Linked DNA regions of Homo sapiens: regions 2 and 3 are each linked to region 1. Evidence: promoter capture Hi-C in human tissues and cell types (Jung and others, 2019). All regions are on one chromosome and are shown on one strand. Each heading gives the region's core, a stretch centred on a gene start or on the middle of the fragment in contact. The rest is flanking DNA. Distances are from core to core; before and after follow the strand shown. Region 1 holds the start of GLYAT (glycine-N-acyltransferase). Region 2 has its middle 45 kb from the start of GLYAT. Region 3 has its middle 46 kb from the start of GLYAT.

Region 1 (4,888 bases), core at 1,067-3,566:
TTAATATAGTGTTATCAGGTATAATTTCTGAGTAACAGATGTTCCATATGGAGGCAAACCTCATCCGACACTGTGATGCAAGTATGTGTGCACTAATATATAGAATAAACTAGTCTAAAAAGTCCAAAATAGATTTTTGACATGTAATGAATTAAGGGAGTTATTAAGAGTCTTTTTGCAAGGGGCAGGGGGCAGTGTACATATATTTCTGCAATATAAATTTTTCTCTCCACTGTCTCATGAGTCTTATGAAAACTGACTTGACCTAGAACCTTAGGGAAAAAATATTCACTAAATATTTCATGCACGCATTTGTATATGCATAATGCACTGTATTAAATAATTATTTACTAAATAAAGCATTTCTATGTGCTTACCATATATCGGGAAGTTGTCTAAGCAATTATGACTATACATATCTAAATTAAGAAAAGACAATCTTAGTTCTGATGCTACTTAGGATTTATAAGGCTGGAAAAAGCATTGCTCCCACAGTAGTGATGAGAAAAATCTGAATAAACTACAAAATCAGTCACGTTCTGAAATTCATTAGGGATCTGAGGGCATGGGCAATCAAGTATCCTGAATTCCAATTAAGCATAGGCCCTGCTTAGGTAAGAAAGGACACAGGAGGACCACTTAATTTTTCTTTAAGACCCTGCAAAGATTCCTAAGGGGAATTATTTAATTCCCTTTATTGATACAGAAATGGAGGCAAGAAAAGGTGAAATCATTTGCTCAAGGTCACACAATAGGTAAGTCGTACAATCAAGATGTCAGCCTGTTAGTTTGGGGGTAGTCATGCTGCAAGCCACTCTGCTATGCTACCTCTGTCATCATTGCTAGCACTTCAATTCAGACCCCAGAGAAAAACCACTTAGAATACTAAGACTGATGCTGGAGCTCCCGAACCTTTTCCCTTGTATCTGATCCCAAAATGTGTGAGGTTTATGTCTGTTATCACATATAACATAGTAAGAATAAGAACCACAGAGTCAAACAAAAGCAAGAAAAATCCTTGGTTACCTAGTACAACACACTTTTTACAGCTAGGGCAACAGCCCAGGGAGGTTAAGAGACTCTAGTCAAAGATTTGAGGGTGAGAGACACCACTGAATCCTGGTCTATTGCCTGGCTGTGTGAGTGTAGGAGCTAAAGTGACAGAATAGGAGGGGTCTGGTTTCTGGGCTTGGGATAAAGGAGTACCCCACTCTTTTGTTGCAGTTAGATATATCCTTTGTGAGATATGAACCCTATTGGAGTCAAGAGATCCACCGGGTTAATAAATGATAGAACAATCTCAGTCGCTTTGAAGAAAGAGTAATGGAAGGTTATAATGACTTCAATCTCAGGGGAAAAGATGGAGAATTAATGTTCTAGGAGTGGCAGGGCTCCTAGACAGTACAGAGAAAAATATGTGAAAACTTGCTCTGTGCTGATCCATTAAGTGAAGGAACACACACACACTTTTTGTCCCTCTTTCTCAACCTAGCCTCTTGTGTCCCTGCTCCTCTGATTAGAGTGTCTGTTGCTTCCTCTACAATAAAGATATTTACTAACCTGGGAATGAGGTGGTGAGAACAAGGACCTGGAGAGTGTCAAACTCCCCATCTTGGCTGTTTTACACAGTGAAATTGAGGCTCAAATTATCTTTGCTGTGAACCCTCCTTTCTTTTCTGAGCAAGTGGAAAGTATAGTAATTAGGACTTCGGAGTGAAAAAGCTCTGGGCTTAACATCTAACCAGTTCAACCATGCTGAGATCTCAATGGTCCTTCTCTATAAAAGTGAGACTAAGAAGTGCTCACATTGAATCATTGTCAGAATGTTTCACTGCAGCTTCAAAATGGGCATGGGAGGGGGCACAACTTGTCTTTAAAAAGGAAGATTCTAACAGCTTTCATCACTCCATGCAAGTAATTTGCTATTTTATTGCATTCTGCAAATCAGATATCATTCATATCTTTCCCACTGCCTTGCTTCTATTACAGATACTTGAATGGGAAAGAGGTGAGGGTAGTGCCTACATAATCTGACCCTCCTTCCAGTATCTGGCCTGTTGGTTTCACACAGCTTTGGTTTTCATGGTATTTCCATGACCTGTGAGGACAAAAAGCATTGTGATGTTTTAAAAAGAGAAGCTCAGGGGCATACAGCCAGCCTCTCAACCATGCAGAGCCAATTACTTCAACATGGGCCCGTGAGAGGCAGGGCTGAATTCCACTAGAACTGACACCAGATTCTTTTGCCAGCCTAGTACAAGGTCCACATTACAAGCCAAAGCTCAGAAATTTCTGGAGGTGGTGTATCAAAATTTACTCTGCGAGACTCTGCTGAACTGGCTGCATCAGGGAGAAATTTCATCTCCCAGAAGGGTGTTGCTCATCGTTTCTTCCCGGAAACATCTGCAGAGACTAGCTTTTCAGGTGAGGACTCATTACAAAGTATCAGATACATAGGATGAACAAGTCTAGAGATCTAATGTACAACATGAGAACTATAGTTAATAGAATTGCATTGTATATGGGATCCATGCTACATGAGTGGAGTTTAGCTGCTCTTTACATAAAAACAACGACAAAAAATAAGTAACTATGTGAAGTAATAGATATATTAATTTGCTTCATAATGGTAATGTTTTCACTATCTGTATGCTCTCATAACATCATATTGTATACTTTAAATATCCACAATAAAATTTATTTTTTTAATGTAATTATTGCTTTGTGACACCTCTTCCACTTAAGTGAGTCAAATTAAAGTGCCCGTATTGTGTTATGCTCAGAATATGCAGACAACTATGCTCAAGGAAAAGGAGTAACTTCCACTTAAGAAACACATATCTGACAACTATTTTGTCAATGGCAGTTTGCTAGCTACCATGAAAATCCTTAGAAGTTTGTGCTCTCGACTAATAAATGAATAAAGAAAGATCTGAGAGCTTCTTGGAAGCAGGTGGATGAATAGAATACTGAGTGTGTGGAGACACCAGAAAAATTACTATTTTTAATCCTGGTCACATTATAAGGGAGGCAGTTTTTTCCTTACACTACTACTAAGAAGTTTGTTGCACTGAAAGTGAGAGAGGAAATAAGTAGATCAATAAGACAAGAATACAGACAAGATTTATTGTTTATTTAAATTATACAGAAAACAAATTTTACTCTAAAGATTTAATCTACAACAGTACTACCACCATTTACTTATTTATTCCTGTTTGCCTTTGTTCTCTCTTAAATTTGAACTTTATGTGTTGTATGTGAACTGTTTTGTGTCCTATATTTTCTCATTTTATTTGAACACTCTCCCATGTGTCTATACATATTATATATTATGTCTGTAGGCATTATGTTAATGCCTTAGGGTTGCATCACTCTGTTGGAACATATTTTATGTTATCTTCCCCTATTGAGGCACATAGAGATTTTGTTCAGACTTGCTTATGTTCATGTGACTTTATAAAATTCTGTTTAGAGTTTTTGTTTTGTTTTGTATTTAGAGACACTCTGTTACCCAGACTGGAGTGCAGTGGTATGAACATAACTCATTGTAACCTTTAACTTGCTGTGGGCTCAAGTGAGTCCAGGGTTAGATTCCACTGGAACTGACATCAGAATTTTTTGCCAACTTAGTACAAGGTCTGCATTACAAGCTGCAACTCAGAAATTTCTGGAAGAGTTGTAACAAAACTCACTCTGTGAGACTGTGGTCAGATTATGTAGGCATAATCTTCCTCTCCTTCCCATTCAAGTAGCTGCAGTAAAAGCAAGGTAGTGGGAAAGATCTGAATGAGGTCTGATTTGCAGAATGTATTCTTTTTTTCTGCTTACACAAAACAGCAAATTACTTGCATGGCATGATGAAAACTATTAGAATCGTCCCACCTTAGCCTCTTGAGTAGCTAGGGCTACAGGTGTGTGTCACCATACCCAACTAATTTTTATTTTTGTAGAGATTGGGGTCTTGCTGTGTTGACCAGGCTGGTCTCAAGCTTTTGCCCTCAATTAATCCTCCCTCCTTGGCCTCTGAAAGTGCTGGAATTACAGGTGCAAGCCACCATGCTCAGCCTAGAGTTGTTTTCTTCTTTTAAATTGTTTTCTTTAGATTAATTTCCATTTCTGTAATAACTGGACCAGGATCAAAGATTCTGAAGTTTATGCCCGGGAATGCTACTCATTGCCCAGTGCTGCCAGCTACCATTATTGTGTCAGATTTCTTGGAAGAACCTCAGTGTCAGTAGCTTTCAGTTTACCCCAACCAAGCATGAGAGCCATACCTCTTTGTTAGTTTGTAAGTACATCCTTAGAGGGTGGTTCCAAACTCTACTCTTCAGAAAATATAGTAATATCACACCCCACAGACTTGACATTAAGCTCTACTTTAACTCTACTTTGTTACTTCCTTCTGAGTTGCATCTAGAGAAAAGACAAGATTAGCCTTTAGGAATGTTATACTTTTATCATCCTAAGACCCTTAGATATGAGATATGGTCTGGAGTTTTCTTCAAGATATAATGTAGTACAAAATAGCTGGAAACTTTTCTCATGTCCAGAATATATTATGCATTTAATACATATGTGTTTATTGAATGAATATATTAATGTCTCTATACTTTTGGAAAGTGGAGTGATTAGACAGACAATTAATACAAGCATTTCATGTATTCAATCATTCGTTACTTATGTATTGAGGGCCTACTCTGTGCCAAATACTGTGATAAGAATTACTGATAAAAGAATAAGTAATATGAGCATCCTGCCTCAGAAGAATTCAACATCTAGAAAAGAAAACGAAATTCAACTTTAAAACATCATGTTGAACAGCATAAATATATACGATATTTATCAATTGAAAGAAGAAAACTTTAACCCAACATAACAAGTTATATAA
Region 2 (4,888 bases), core at 623-3,122, 44 kb after region 1:
AAAGTCCCATTGCAGTGGTCCCTATACCATTGCAATAGTCCTGAATGAAGTCTTCCTTACCAAGCTTTGCAAATATCATTGAATATTTTTTTCTTTGACAGGATGAAAAGAGATAATGTATGCACAGTACAGGAACAAAGTGTGTCATCAGTAAATAATTACGTTCACTATGATTAACCAGTTGGATGAGGATCTTCTCATATGATTAATTGAACCAGCAGGCAAATGGAATTATCTTTACAGTGACTCTCTTGACTGCCAACTCCACTGGGACACATCTGATGTTTAAAATGCAGAATGTGTGTGTGTGTATGTGCACATGCCCGTTTGAGGTAGCTTTTATGTCACTCACATGTCACCGGGTTTAGCAACATGTGATGCCATTTTCTTTTCATTAAGCAGAGAAGGAAGAAGTTTCTTCAGTTTCCAGACATAAAGGTGAGTCGTTCCAATCATGAGACAGTGAGAGACTTGGCAGCTGCCACATTCTTAATCACTTCATTTAAGCTGGACTGAGTCACTATAAGGGAAACAAAAGAGAATGTGTATGTCCAGAGAGAACTCAGGGGAAGTCTGTAGGTAGAATGCACACATTCCACAAACATTTGCTGAGTACAGTGTTAGGCACTATGCTCCTTGATATACAAGGGTGTACAAACCAGGCAATCCCTGACCTTACAGATCTAATAAATAAATAGTCTAATAAGAGAGACAGATATCACATGTGCAACCACATAAATAAATGCATACTTAGAAATTGTGGGCTGGGCACAGTGGCTCACGCTGTAATTCCAGCACTTTGGGAGGCTGAGGCAGGTGGATCACTTGAAGGCATGAGTTTGAGACCAGCCTGGTCAACATGGTGAAACCCCTTTTCTACTAAAAATACAAAAATTAGCCAGGCATAGTGGTGTGCACCTGTAATCCCAGCTACTCAAGAGGCTGAGGCAGGAGAATCGCTTGAACCTGGGAGGCAGAAGTTGCAGTGAGCTGAGACTATCCCACTGTACTCCAGCTTGGGCAACAGAGCAAGACTCCATCTCAAAAAAAAAAAATTGTGGTGCTTTAAAGGGAAAAGTGAAAGTAGCTACAAATCAATATAAAATAGAGTCTCAATTCACTTGAGGGAGTTGCAGGAGGTCCCTCTTAGAAAGGTAGGTGAGATGTTCTAGGCAGTGGCATGAAAAATAGATGGGATTCAGAGGTACGGACAGGTTTAGAGGTCCAGTTTTACCCTGAAATAACTTCGACTCATTCAGGTGATCACTTGACCACCTGAACTACTGTCCTGCTTATTCACAGAGCTGTATTCAAAAGCAAATGAGATGCTTTCTGTCAAAGTGTTACATAATCTATAAGTGCTTTTAATCTTATTCTTTAAAATAAATGCCAAAAAGAAAACTTTGATCCCATTCTACAACTACAAGGTTTCTAGGGGATCACAGCAAATCTGAAAATGACATTACCAACCCTATGTCAAATTGAGTAAGTTTCTTCCTCAATTCCTCACCCTCCCACCCACTCCCATTCCCACCCTTCTCTTTCTACTGCTCTATATTCAAAAGCACAAATTCCTCAAAGACACCTTCCAGTGTTCCACCTATCATAGAGCCTTCCTTAATACACTAGATTGGAAAATGATTTATCTCTCCTCTGAAACTCTCCAGCACTTTACCCATACCTTTCTGGGAACTTCCTAGTCTACCTTGTTTCAAATTGTTTTCTGCACAGTTGGTGGCACAGGCAGGTAGCTGACTTCAAGGGAAAGATTGCCTTGCTCCTGGATGACTAAAAGCCAGTGCTGAGAAGTAAAGCACTGATGGGGACCTTGAACTCGGATTAAGCAGCTGAGAAGAACTCTAATGAGGACATTTTCTTTCTTAATGCTACAGGTAAATAAGCCCATTTATTTTTACCTGTTTTGTATTATAATCTGGTAAAGAGAAAAAGGAGCTTTCCAGGAAGAAAAGAATCTAGAAAAGAGGGATTAAAAATGGGATGAAGGCTGGGCACACTGGCTCACGCCTGTAATCCCAGCACTTTGGGAGGTCAAGGTGAGAGGATCACTTGAGGCCAGTTCAAGATTAGCCTGGGCAACATAGTGAGACCCTGGTCCCTATGAAAGAAAAATGTTTTTAATTTAGCCAGGCAAGATGGCATGGGCTTGTAGTTCCAGTTACTTGGGAGGCTGAGGTGGGAGGATCACTTGAGCCCAGGATTTTGAGGTGGCAATTAGCCATGATCATGCTACTGCACTCCAGCCTGGGTAACAGAGCAAGACTCTGTTTCTAAAATAAAATTAAAAGTAAACAAATAAAAGTAGGTGCAAAAAGGTCATGAAAAAATTTCTCCAGAAGGCTGGGCATGGTGGCTCATGCCTGTAATTCCAACACTTTGGGAGGGTGAGTTGGGAGAATCACTTGACACCAGCAGTTCTTACCTGCCTGGACAACATAGTGAGACTCTGTCTCTATTTTAAAAAAAATAAATACATAATAAAAAATATAAAAAATTTCTCCAGAGACCTCTGTGGTTTTTCAGGGATGGCATAAATGACATTAGAGGGTGACATCAGTGGGAATGATGGAATAAGGACCTCTAAAAATCCTCTCCTTCATCAAAGTGACAAGAACACTGAAAAAAGCCAAAATAAACATTTTCCAAAACTCCAAAAATTAACCAAAAATTTGCAACAATCTGAAGATTTATTCCAGAGAAACAGCTGAATCTGTTTGTTTTTTTGTCCATGACCTGTTGAAAAAGCAGCTGAAACTTTCTGAGAATAGTGAGCTTTGTGGTATTGTGACTTGCCCTATCCGTAGTGGCCTCTCCGCAGCTCCGTGGTATAAACCAACAGTCCTACAATCATGGTGAAAGCCAGGAGCCTAGCAACTATTGGACAGGCAGTATGGGTTTGGAGCTCCCTGAAAGCAATATTCTCAGAGGTTTGTTGCTATTTGACATGTCTGGCAGTTCCCTGTGAACCCCAACGCTCACAGCTTTTTTCAGATGATCTTAGTCAGGGCTTGCTTACTGTGCAAAGCCATTTCCCCCAGTCATCTGCTGAAAACAGTCAGCATCGATTAATACATCATAGCTGCCTGACATGGCAACGATATTTAGGGCAAACAAAAACCTAAACAAAACATTTAAAAGGATCAGCTGGGGGATGAGATGTCCATAGACAGCTTTGAAAGCTCTGACAAATTTCTAAGAATCTAGAAGGCTACATGTTTGCATATAGCTGTGGACATGCCCAGGGAAGTACGAGAAGACTCTAACAAGATCTCCGATCCAATTGACCTTGAGGCTGCACACACACAGGAAATGAAGGTTAAGGCAGAGTTGTAAACTACCTGCCTAAAAACTGAAAGCATGACCTAATACAAACACAAAGCCCCTCAGCAAAGGCTAGGAGGTGAATGGTTCCAGACATTTAAGGATCGCTAAGCTAATTGATCAGAGACTTCAGTGGTCACTTTATGAGTATGCTTAAAACAACTTAACTGTACACTTTACAAGGGTAAATTTTATGGGTGTATTATATTGCAATAAAAAAACTATTCATAATTAATGCACAAAAGATAAGCTAAAACAATAATTGGCAAAGGTATGATAGGCAATGCATAGGAGGAATATGAGTGGTCAACAAACATATGCAAACTTATGTTAATCATCAATCTTAAGAGAAATCATTAATTTTCTATTAAATGAGATTTTAAAAGAAAGAAAGAATTATAGAGCCTGCTCTCTGACACTGACCCTTGAACTAAGTAGGCAGTATTACCTCTCCCTGCTCGGAGGAAGGCAATACCTAAAACCTTTGGCCTTCATCTTGTCCAAAGACTCCCCCACTGATACCCACAAATTTATAAATTTGTATAAACCTCTTTGCCCCTATCATTGGTTGACTAGAATAAATACCACACACAAGCCAGCCTGGTACCAAATTTTATGCCCCCACCTTGGTTCCCAAAGGTTGTGCCCACACAAGGCCTATCTCTTTCCCACAAATGGCACCCAATGTTCCTGCAACTTGAGTCTACAAATGTTGCTTCCAGTTATGATGCCTGGCTGGCCAAGGACCTCTGGTAAATTCTCTGCATTCTTGGAATAGATTTGGTACGTGTTGGTGTAGTGATCAAGGTCATTTGTCATCTCCTGGATGGCTCCAAAAAGAAAAAGAACAGACTTTGAAACACTAGAGAACTTATGCAGATAGAAAAGTTGTTCATCCCAACTCTGACAAAAATATCACCAAAAAATGGGCTCATGTCCCAGTTAGAGAACAGTCACTCCTACCTGGTCTTGTGGCCAGATGAGGACTGTGTTGAAATTAGGCACCTGTCCACTCGCACCTGAAGCTTGAATGCGTTCCTCTGCTTTATATGGAAAACAGTACATAATCTGTAGCATAAATCTGTAGCAGCTCAAAGAATAGGAAGAGTCAAGACCCTGGAAAAAGCAACAAAGCATTCTTCAATAAATTCACAGACTCTTATGGCTGCCAGTGTTGGAGTCTGTACAGCATATTCACCAACTGGTATCTGCTCGAAGAGCTTGAGTTACAGGGAATTTGTTACTTTCAAAGGCAACCAAATATGCCCTTGTTCAGCTCTAACAATTTTTAAAAACATTTGTCATTTGTAACTGGTATTCTACCTCTTTCATTTTTCTTTTTAATCACAGTCTGGGGCCATGGAAAATCATCATTCATTTTCACCCTATGGAACTTGACGTGGCTGAAAGCCACTGCCTTAGTAATAATTATGATTCTTCAGTAAGCAAACCTTATATTCCAGCCACAGTCCTAGGCACTTTACTTGCATTATCTAATTTAATTCTTTTTTAATATACTTTAAGTTCTGGGATACATGTACAGAACGTG
Region 3 (4,888 bases), core at 1,616-4,115, 46 kb before region 1:
TTCCCACTGGGGCACTGCCTAGTGGAGCTGTGAGAAGAGGGCCACTGTCCTCCAGACTCCAAAATGGTAGGTCCACTGACAGCTTTCACCCACACCTGGAAAAGCTGCAGACACTCAACTCCAGCCTGTAAAAGGAGGCAGATAGGGAGCTGTACCCTGCAAAGCCACAGGGTCAGAGCTGCCCAAGGCCATGGGAGCCTACCTCTTGCATCAGCATGACCTGGATGTGAGACATGGTGTCAAAGGAGATCATTTTGGAACTTGAAGGTTTAATGAGTACCCTATTGGATTTTGAACTTGCATGAGGCCTGAGGCCCTTTGTTTTGGCCAATTTCTCCCATTTTGAATGGGTGTATTTAACCAATGCCTGTAGTCCCCATTGTATGTAGAAAGAAAATAACTTGCTTGCAATTTTATAGGCTCATAGGCAGAAAGTTCTTGCCTTGTCTCAGATAAGACTTTGGATTGCAGACTTTGAGTTAATGCTGAAATGAGTTAAGACTTTGGGGGACTGTTGGGAAGGCATGATTGGTTTTGAAATGTGAGGACATGAGATTTGAGAGGGGCCAGGGGCAGAATAATATGGTTTGGCTGTGTACCCACCCAAATCTCATCTTGATTTGTAGCTCCCATAATCCTGATTTGTCCTGGGAGGGACCTGGTAGGAGGTAATTGAATCATGGCAGTGGGTTTCTTATGTATGTTCTCATGATAGTGAATAAGTCTCATGATATGGGATGGTTTTATACAGGACAGTTCTTCTGCACATGCACTCATGTCTGCCACCATGTAAGACGTGTTTTTTTCTCCTCCTTCACTTTCTGCCATGATTGTGAGGCCTCTCAGCCATGTGAAACTGTGAGTCCATTGAAATTTCTTTATAAATTACACAGTTTTGGGTATGTCTTTATTAGCAGCATGAGAACAGACTAATGCAGTAGATTTTTTATTACTGATTCAGTTTTGGAACTTGTTAATGGTTGGTTAAGGGTTTCAACTTCTTTCTAATACAATCTTGGGAGATTGTATGTTTCCAGGAGTTTATCTTTTTTTTTCTTTATGTTTTCTAGTCTGTATGCATAGAAGTGTTCATAATAGTCTATGAGGGTTTTTGTGTTTCTATGGGAGCAGTGCTAATGTCCTCCTTCATCATTTCTGCTTGCATTTATTTGGATCTTATCTCTTTTTTTATTACCCTAGATAGTGGTGTATCAATCTTATTATTCTTTCAATGAACCAACTTTTGGTTTTACTGATCTTTTTGTATGTTTTGTTCACATCTCCATTTTGTTCAGTTCAGCTTGGATTTTGTTCATTTCTTTTCTTCTGCTAGCTTCTGGTTTGGTTTGCCCTTGTTTTTCTAGTTCCTCTGGGTGTGATGTCAAGCTGTTATTTTGAGACATTTCTGACTTTTTGATGTGGATAATTAGTGCTATGAACATTTCTCTTACCACTGCTTTGTCTATATCTCAGAGATTCTGATATGTTGTATCTTTGTTTTCATTAGTTTCAAAAAAATTGCTTTATGCCTAAATTTTATTGTTTACCCAAAAGTCATTCAGGAGCAGGTTATTTAATTTGCATTTAAATATATGGTTTTGAGATATCTCATTGGTATTGACTTCTATTTTTATTGTGCTGTGATCTGATACTGTGGTTGGTATGATTTGGTTATTTTTGAATTTGTTGAGAATTGCTTTATGGCTGAGAATGTGGTTGATTTTAGAGTATGTGCCATGTGCAGAGTAGGAGAATGTATATTCTCTTGTTTGGAGTGGTAAGTGGTATGTTCTGTAGATGTCTGTGAAGTCTATTTGGTCAACCATTGAATTTAGATTCTGAATATTCTTGTTAGTTTTCTGCCTCAATTATTTGTCTAATACTGTCAGTGGGGTGTTGAAATCTCCCACTATTATTTTGTGGTTATCTAAGTTTCTTCACAGGTCTCTAAGAACTTGTTTCATAAATCTGGGTGCTCCGGTGTTAGATATATATATATATATATATATATGTATAGAGAATAGATATACATCTATATATAATATTTAGTATATAATATTAAATATATTTAAATAATAAATAATATGTAATATGTATACTATTTAAGTCTTCTTGTTGAATTGAACCCTTTATCATGATGTAATGTCCTTCTTTATCCTTTTGATCATGGTTTGTTTAAAATGTACTTTGAGATAAGAATAGTAACCCTTTTTTTGTTTTCTGTTTGCTTGATAGATCTTCTTCCATCCCTTTACTTTGAGCCTATGATTGTCATTATATGTGACATGGATCTCCTGAAGAGAGCATATAGTTGGGTCTTACTTCTTTATCTAATTTGCCACTCTGCACCCTTTAAGTGGAATCATTTAACTTGTTTATATTCAAAGTTAATACTGATATGTGTGGATGTGATTCTGTTATTGTGTTGTTAACTAGTTGTTATGTAGGCTTGATTGTGTAGTTCCTTTATAGTGTCAATGGGCTGTGTACTTCACTGCGTTTTTGCAGTGGCCAGTAATGGTCTTTTGATTCCATGTGTAGTGCTCCCTTAAGGACTCCTTTTAAGTCAGGTCTGGTAATAAATTCCCTTAACATTTGCTTGTCTGAAAAGCATTTTATTTCTCTTTTGCTCATGAATTTTAGTATAGCTGTATAGGAACTTCTTGATTGGAATTTCTTTTCTTCAAGAATGCTGAATATAGGCCCCCAATCTCTTCTGCCTTTTAGAGTTTCTGCTGAAAAGTTTTCTGCTGGCATGATGATGTTCCCCTTGTGGGTAGGTGACATGCCCCTTCTCTTTAGCTGCCTTTAATATTTTTTCTTTTGCATTGACCTTGGAGAATCCGATGACTATATGTCTCAAGGATGATCATCTTGTATAGTATCTTGCAGGGGTTCTGTGAATTTCCTAAATTTCTTTGTCAACCCGTTTAACTAGGTTGAGGAGATTTTGATGGACAATGTTTTGCAACTTGCTTACTCTCTTTTTTAGGGATGCCAATGAGTCATAGGTTTGGTCTCTTTATATAATCCCATATATCTCAAGGTTTTGTTCATTCTTTTTTATTTTTGTCTGACGAAGTTAAATCAAAGAACCAATCTTTGTTGTGAGACAATCAAAGACCAAAGAGATCGATAAATGTTCAGGAGAGTCCATTAAGGTGATCACCAGCCCAGACGGACATGTGTCCAGAAAGCCTGAGCCCCGAAGAAAGAGCTTCTACTACTTTTAAATATCTTAAGGCAGGAACTACGTGAAGCAGGAAGCAAGTTACAGAAGCAAGAAACAACGGCGGCATTGCAACATTTCTTACATTTTGAGAAAGACATGACTTGCAACCTAAACTTATCGGTCTTGTGACCCTGCAGTCGTGCAGGAACTCGCTGGGCCTGTAATAAACTTTGAAGAATGTGGAGTTGGGGAGCATAGATAAGGTCCACTGTCCACAGAGAGAAGACAGGCTGTTAATATTCCCTTGTAACTTGAGTGTAAGGGGAGGTCACACTTTGCAGCAACTTTAAGAGGATTTTAAAACTTCTATTACTACTACTATTAGGTTATAGTTGATTTCATTAATTCCTTCTTCATTCCCCCCTTTTGGTGCATGACACAAATGTAGATTAGTAAAGAGAACCACAGTTAGCTATTTTTTCTTGAGTGGGTACATACTCATCTTGGGATACTGGTTGGTACTTTTGCAGAGCCACTATTCATGTGGTGGTATGTCTGGCTACTATTGCTTCTATGGTGGATTGGATGCTTCTGATGAGAAGTGGCAGGAGACAAGAAAGCAGGAGGCATACACCTATTATGGCCACAAAGCCTATTATTAAAGTTTTAAAGCCTCCAAACCATGAAAACCATCCTCCAAAGGGTGAACTCGGGTTCCAACCAGACCACATCTGGGCCAGAACATGAGCTAACTTTAGCATCCTGGCAGTGATTTTCATGACAGCTTTTCCATTGTCATCAATTTGTAAAAAGCAATTCATTAAATTAAGTTTTCCACAAACTCCTCCTTCTGAAGCTAAAAGATAATCCAGGGCTAACCTGTTCTGATAAATGGCATCTCTCATCTGGGTCGCCTGTATGGCTAGCAAGTCTAAGGCTCAGGCTGTTTCAATGACTATAATTTCCAGAACTGCTTGCAACCTTGTGATGCAACTTAACATATAAATAGGAGTATGGTATCTCCATGACCCATTTTGTGCCCAGGTGGCTGGTACATAGTATTTGTTAATTCTTTCAAGGGGCCATTCATTCTCTTTCCAGCTCCCTATTTCAATGTCCTTTTAATGGTAGTATTTATTTTTTCCAAGTACTTATTTTTGTAAACACATTTCTTCAGACTCTTTTTCTGCCTTCATCATAGACCAGATACCTTAGATTTTTCCCTTGCTGCAGTGGGAGTAGGAAAAAGGATAGCCTTATTGTTCCTAATACACTCGCCCCTATCCATTTATCAGACAGCAATTGATAAGCTTTTGTTCCACAGATCCAATATAATCCTGCAGGTGTTCCTCAAATTCAGGCAAGGTAAAACTGTCCTGTGGCATCAGTTCTCTGGCTTCCAGGGCCATTGATCTTCTATATTAGTACCTCCACATACATCAGCTTGGCAGGCATCAAAATATATGGAGACAGGCCCTTTATGCAAGTAAGGGAATACTTCTGTTTTGTTTACAAGTTTATTGACCCCGGTTTCTGTGGGGTTTGTATATGATGGCATTAGGGATTTGCCAATTTGGACTTCAAATGAGAAATCACAGGGCAAGAACTCTGGGTCATAACATACTTAGGGTTGCCTGTTTCCAGGATCACAGACTGAGTAACAAGTCTGGTTATAGACACAAGTTCCTGTATGAGTCCCTGTACACTCATAGTAGG

The links. Contacts are between HindIII fragments. The study calls those that stand out against the background at their distance.
Region 2: a contact is called between a fragment that was not itself captured here and the fragment with the promoter of GLYAT in region 1, in 1 of the 25 tissues and cell types used here (neural progenitor cells).
Region 3: a contact is called between a fragment that was not itself captured here and the fragment with the promoter of GLYAT in region 1, in 2 of the 25 tissues and cell types used here (adrenal gland and neural progenitor cells).

The regions. Positions count from the first base shown.
Region 1 is chr11:58,729,371-58,734,258 of GRCh38, reverse strand. GLYAT (glycine-N-acyltransferase) reads left to right here and starts at 2,316. Exons shown (of 6, transcript NM_201648.3): 1 at 2,316-2,424. The HindIII fragment of the contact is 13,891 bases long and covers 1-4,888 here.
Region 2 is chr11:58,684,601-58,689,488 of GRCh38, reverse strand. No RefSeq gene overlaps it. Among named protein-coding and RNA genes, the nearest start is that of GLYAT, 45 kb to the left of the region's middle. The HindIII fragment of the contact is 6,138 bases long and covers 1-4,888 here.
Region 3 is chr11:58,775,550-58,780,437 of GRCh38, reverse strand. No RefSeq gene overlaps it. Among named protein-coding and RNA genes, the nearest start is that of GLYAT, 46 kb to the right of the region's middle. The HindIII fragment of the contact is 7,492 bases long and covers 1-4,888 here.